Linked DNA regions of Homo sapiens: region 2 is linked to region 1. Evidence: promoter capture Hi-C in 16 types of primary human blood cells and fetal thymus (Javierre and others, 2016). All regions are on one chromosome and are shown on one strand. Each heading gives the region's core, a stretch centred on a gene start or on the middle of the fragment in contact. The rest is flanking DNA. Distances are from core to core; before and after follow the strand shown.

Region 1 (2,700 bases), core at 127-2,626:
AATCAACAGAAAGTGGTGGCTGTCAGAAGCAAGCAGCTGCTCAGGGAGCTCCCATGAGAAGGGCAGGCCGCCTGCTGACCGTGGAGAGCACAGCAAGCCCCTATCCACAGAGCTTTCTTCTCTGTTACTCTGATCATGCCAGAAACGGGGCTACTGGGAAAAGGAACAGGAAGGGAAGAGAAGCTTTACTTGGGTCCTGCTGTATTAGTAAACCCTCCTTCTGCGCCACTAACTGGCTGCTAGGAAATGGGAATGGTGATATTTCAAGAATGAGCCATGGCTAATACTTAGAAACTAGGCTAATTATGTGACATGATGGCCCTGGGCACAGAACAAGGAAGAAGAGGAAGGTAAACTTAGTCTGATTTAATGAAAAGTCCAATTTGGAGACCATTTTCAGAGATCTATGGCCTTCAAAGATCTGCAGCCTGGCAGGCCACTCTCGCACCAGGTCAGGGGAGTGGGCAGCAGGCTCTCTGGGGCTTCATGAATAGGTAAATGTCATCTGCAGCAAGAAGGTGGGGCTCTGATACATCCTGATATTCTTTGCTCATACTGTAATTAGCACATTCCTTGTATATAGTGATTTTTTTAAGAGCACTTAACATGGCCAATCAATCAATGTTCTGAATTTCCTTGTTTATCCTAATAATTAGCAACTCCCTTCCTTCCCTCCCTTCCTCCCTCTCCTCCCTCCCTACCTTTCCTCCCCTCTTTCCCTGCCTCCCTCCCTTCCTTCTTTCCTTCTTCCAAGTGGGACAAATGTGGCCTTCAATGCCCAGCAGCTATCAGTTGTTGCAATTTCTGAGTTAGTGCAGTCTAAACTAATGAAGAAATTGTGAAGATCTCCCCCCAGTTTTCATCACTGTGCTTACATATAGCTGTGCTTCAGTGCAAGCAAGCATGATCTACCTCCAGGGATGTACCGAAGGAGTAGGAAGAAAGCTGACTCAGAAATCCAGGGCCTTCTTCAAGGCAGAGGCCCTGCCTAATACTCCCGCGTTTGATGGTCCCTGAGTCAGAACGGTTTGTTAGTGGTTTAGAGTTGCAGATTTTCCACTCACTTATAAAGGCCCCTGCTGTGCACAGTCACTATGATGAATGAATAACTCAGTTGCATACGCAAGTCTGTTCCCAAGTACCATCTGTTGAGTGAATGAATGAGTGAACAAAAGGGAAACACATTACCCCAATTGTGAATCTGAATAATGAACTTGGCAATGTGATGTGATCTCTGCTCCAGCAGGCCTGGGTTCCAAGTCCAGCAGGGCCCTTGATGTCCTTTGTCCTTCATTCCTGTGCACCTTGCGCCTCCAAATCACATTTGGTACGTCTTTCTTGTAGTGCTGATGGTTATTTATGAGCATGTCCTGGGCTGCCTGTTCTTATTGTAAGCTCTCCAATTAATTGCCTAGTGCTGTGTACCCAATTATCATGTAAATACATGTTGAATGAATAAACAAGTGTGACTCATTCAGAGCTAAACTACGCATGAGAGTAGACATGGCCAGCTTCAGCCAAGAGTGAAAACCAGATTCCCAACTCCCTATAGCCCATTCCCTGGCTCCCTGGAAAAGTGGAGGGAAAACACTTGGGAATGAGCAGGATTCTAGGAGCTGGGAAGCGCCCCTTTCCCCACTGGGAAATTCCATGTGAGCACTCATCGGGGCATTCCCCTGCTCTCATTCTCTTGCTTCAGCTGCTTGGGATCTTTCAATGCACCCCTCCCTGCAAAAAGATGGTGGCACTAGCTGGAAAGTATAGCATCCAGTGCCCCACTTCACTCATTTCTTTCTTCCCTCCTCTCTTGCCTCCACTTTGTCCTACTCACATTATCCCCCACCCCTGCTGCTGGTAGGTTTATTCATCCACTGAAACAAGCTTGATTGAGTTCAAGGCAATTAACATTACTGAGCATCTGTTAGGAACTGGAGACTGAGAGTGGCCTTTAAGGATTTTCAAGGCCAGGAGCAGTGGCTCATGCCTGTAATCCCAGCATTTTGGGAGGCCGAGGCAGGAGGATTGCTTGAGCTCAGGAGTTCAAGACCAGCCTGGGCAACATAGTGAGACTTCATCTCTACCAAAAATACAAAAAATTAGCTGGGTGTGGTAGTGCGCGCCTGTGGTCCCAGCTGCTTGCAGGGGTAAGGTGGGAATATCACTTGAGCCCAGGAGACTGAGGCTGCAGTGAGCTGTGATTGTGCCACTGCACCCCAGCCTGGGTGACAGAACAAGACCCTGTCTCAAAAAAAAATCATCCTCCTACTCCTCACAGGAGAAAGACAGGCAAGCAGCTTACCTAAATACACAATAAAATGTAATAGCTGCTAGATACAATTACAGGCACTACACAGGATGCATCAGGAAGGAAAAAACAACTAATTCTAATTCTGACCAGGAGATACCTTCTCAGTGGAGATGGCATTTGAGTTGAGCCAGGAAGGAGGACTAGAGTTTTGATAACAGTTTGGGAAATGGCGTGAGTAAAGACGTGGAAGCACATGCAGGCAACATTTGAAAGAGCAGAGGGAGTGGCAGGGGACAGGGAGAAGTCCTGGATGGCTATGCGGAGGAATTTGGACTTGATTGGGAGGAGGAGCTCTTCAAATATGACTGCACTCTTTCTTTTCCTCCCTCACAGCTCTGAGAGTTGTCAGGCATTGGTTTGGTTCAGTGATCGTAAACAGGCTGGCTCCCCAA
Region 2 (2,700 bases), core at 165-2,664, 510 kb before region 1:
TCATGTGGCCTTGGACAAATTACATAACCTCTCTGTGACTCAGTTTTCTTGTTTCTAGAATGGAATCCATACCTCCTAGGGTTGTTGTGAACATTAAATGAGTTAATACACCTAAAGTACTAAGAGTGGTGTCTAGCTCATGCTAAACATTAAAAAAAAAAAAAAAAAGATAAGGTCTCCCTTCTTGTAAAATGAGAGAGTTAGACCATCTGGGGTTTCACAGTGTCATCCCACAGGTCAGATCCCACCTGGGAGATTTTTGTTTCATGTAGGGATTTTTTTTTTTTTTAAGGTGGACCTTAAATCAGGGCTAGAAAGTTTGCCACAGCTTCCATCATTCTCTATTAGTTATATGTGGCCCTTTGTTCAGATACATGTAGTAACCTTGCTGACCCCTATAGCCATTTGGGTTTTTATCCTCTGGAGATGGTCTCTAAGGCCTTTTCCAGGTCTACATTTCTGTCTAAATTTGTCAGAAAGAGTCCTTGGGCTGTGAGTGCCCAGTAGTGAAGTGGAATCCTCATTTCTCTATTCCAGCCTTTGTCTTCACACATCAGCAGAATATGGGGTCTGTGGCTTTCTTATGTTGCTTAAAGCATTGTACCCCATCCCCCACCCTGAACAATTGCTTTCCGTTTTCCTAGCCTCCTCCCCAGAGTCACTGCACAGCTATGGCACCATCCAGTTACAGGAGAGTTCCTTGGGCTCATGAGTCTCTAAACCTTCCTCTCTGTCTGACTGCTGGCTATGGTGGAAGAATGGGTGTGTGTGTGTGTGTGTGTGTGTGTGTGTGTGTGTGTGTGTGTGTGTGTTTTAAGCCATTTAAAAATAGGTAAAAATTTCCACTTTAACCCAGTGTCAAAAAAAAACCAGTGGGGCATGGGTTTGTTGTTGTTGTTGTTATTTTGAGACGGAGTTTCACTCTTGTTGACCAGGCTGGAGTGCAGTGGTGCGATCTCAGCTCACTGCAACCTCTGCCTCAGGTTCAAGTGATTCTTGTGCCTCAGCCTCCTAAGTAGCTGGGATTACAGGCATGTGCCACCACGCCCAGATAATTTTTGTATTATTAGTAGAGACGGGGTTTCTACATGTTGGTCAGGCTGGTCTCGAACCCCCGACCTCAGGTGATCCACCCGCCTTGGCCTCCGAAAGTGCTGGGATTGCAGGCGTGAGCCACCACGCCTGGCCAGGGGCATGCATGGTTTTATAGGTAGATTAATTTAGACAGTTGGACCTGGGAAGCTCTATAAATCATCTCCCAAGGCTGTAGAAGAGTTAGTGCATTAATCCCAAAGAAATTAGTCACACCCAGGAGGATGTGCCCACTACATTCAGGGAAAGGTAAACATTTTGAGTGTAAGCATCTCTGGCTGGATTTGTGTACACAGAAATCTCTGTAGATGTATTTTTAAGCACTTAAGACCTGGGACTTAATATTGATTGCTTAGTGTTTAAATTAGAAACAGGTTGTGTTTTGCTGGCTGTGCAAAGTAAAAACCTGGTCCCTGTTGACTTGATTATTTCACCATAAATGAGCTGCTTTTCTTGGCTCAGTGCCTGAGTCCAGCAAAGGCAGGGAACAGCGAGGTTGCTATGGCAGTAATGAAGTCTCTCTTGGGGACTTTAAAGGGGATTCTGCTGGCTCACAGTGGTAAAGGAGGAGTACATAATTAGAGAGGCAAAATTTTATGTAACAACATAGTCTGATTAATTTGGGATTCATTCTTCCACCTATATTACTAAGTGAGATTTCTTTTAGTGTTACACAAATAGGGTGGGCACTGCCATGGGCGTTCACACAGGTTTTGCTTTGCCTGGAATCTTCCTGCCTCTCTGGCCTGACCAGCTCTGCTCATCCCAGGTTTGAGGTCGCCTTTAAACCTGAATGCTAATTGACACTCCTGTGCCCCTACTCCCGCTTCTACCTCACTGTTTGCTCCCTATGGTGAAACTCCCCTACCTCACTGGAACTGCTGGCTTTGGGTCTGCATCCACCTCACTTAGTCTCTAGGTCTCTGGTAGCTGGTGCAGGGCTGGGTGCCTTCCAGATGGGCAAGGGGTCAGAAGGCTTTAATATGTGATTTTATAGAGTCCATGCTGAAACCACTGGCTTCTTACCTTTCTAGTCCTTTACTGTTACAGTAAAATAATTACTAGAATGTTACTTACCTCATATACATATTAAGGGTTTGTTTGTATTAAGCCAAAAACTCTCAGAAATGTCCTGTTAAACACTTCAGTGTTTTTAGGGTGGCTAATGTTGAATCCTGTTAGTTTTGTTGAGGTTATTGGGCATAAATATCAAGAAGCCAAAAAGGGAAAAAAAAAGTTTTTCTCTTGAAAAATATCAAATGAAGGAGGTAACCTACTACTTACAAGCCAACAATCTTTCCCTTGCTTTCTTTCATTTTCCTTCTCTTCAGTACAGTGATATCTAAAGTTTCTGACAAAGCTCTGACATACTATCATACATGTCTTTTAAGTTATTCCAGAAAGGTTATTGTACTTACATTGTGGTTTTTATATTGAGAGTATCGTAGTGTGTTCTAAAGCTGTGAAACTAGAGGTGGTGTATATGACAAAACCCCTCTGTAACCCAGACTGCTTCATTCCCTAGGCCTCTCAGTTTCCTAGGCCTGCCAGAGAAGAGTATTTATTATACTCTGAAGATAAGAGAGTTAATTATTATCGGCCGAGGTT

The links. The method cuts DNA at HindIII sites, captures the fragments that hold promoters and counts their contacts. A CHiCAGO score of 5 or more calls a contact.
Region 2: a contact is called between a fragment that was not itself captured here and the fragment with the promoter of LARS2-AS1 in region 1, in 2 of 17 cell types (M1 macrophages and M0 macrophages). The highest score is 6.1, in M1 macrophages.

What each region holds. Positions count from the first base shown.
Region 1 is chr3:45,508,169-45,510,868 of GRCh38, forward strand. LARS2-AS1 (LARS2 antisense RNA 1) reads right to left here and starts at 1,377. Exons shown (of 4, transcript NR_048543.1): 1 at 1,189-1,377. All of the region lies in intron 15 of LARS2 (leucyl-tRNA synthetase 2, mitochondrial), which reads left to right. RefSeq lists an enhancer at 1-622 and a silencer at 1,449-1,743. The HindIII fragment of the contact is 1,698 bases long and covers 182-1,879 here.
Region 2 is chr3:44,994,095-44,996,794 of GRCh38, forward strand. The region is part of intron 3 of EXOSC7 (exosome component 7); the gene reads left to right. Among named protein-coding and RNA genes, the nearest start is that of EXOSC7, 19 kb to the left of the region's middle. The HindIII fragment of the contact is 3,022 bases long and covers 1-2,700 here.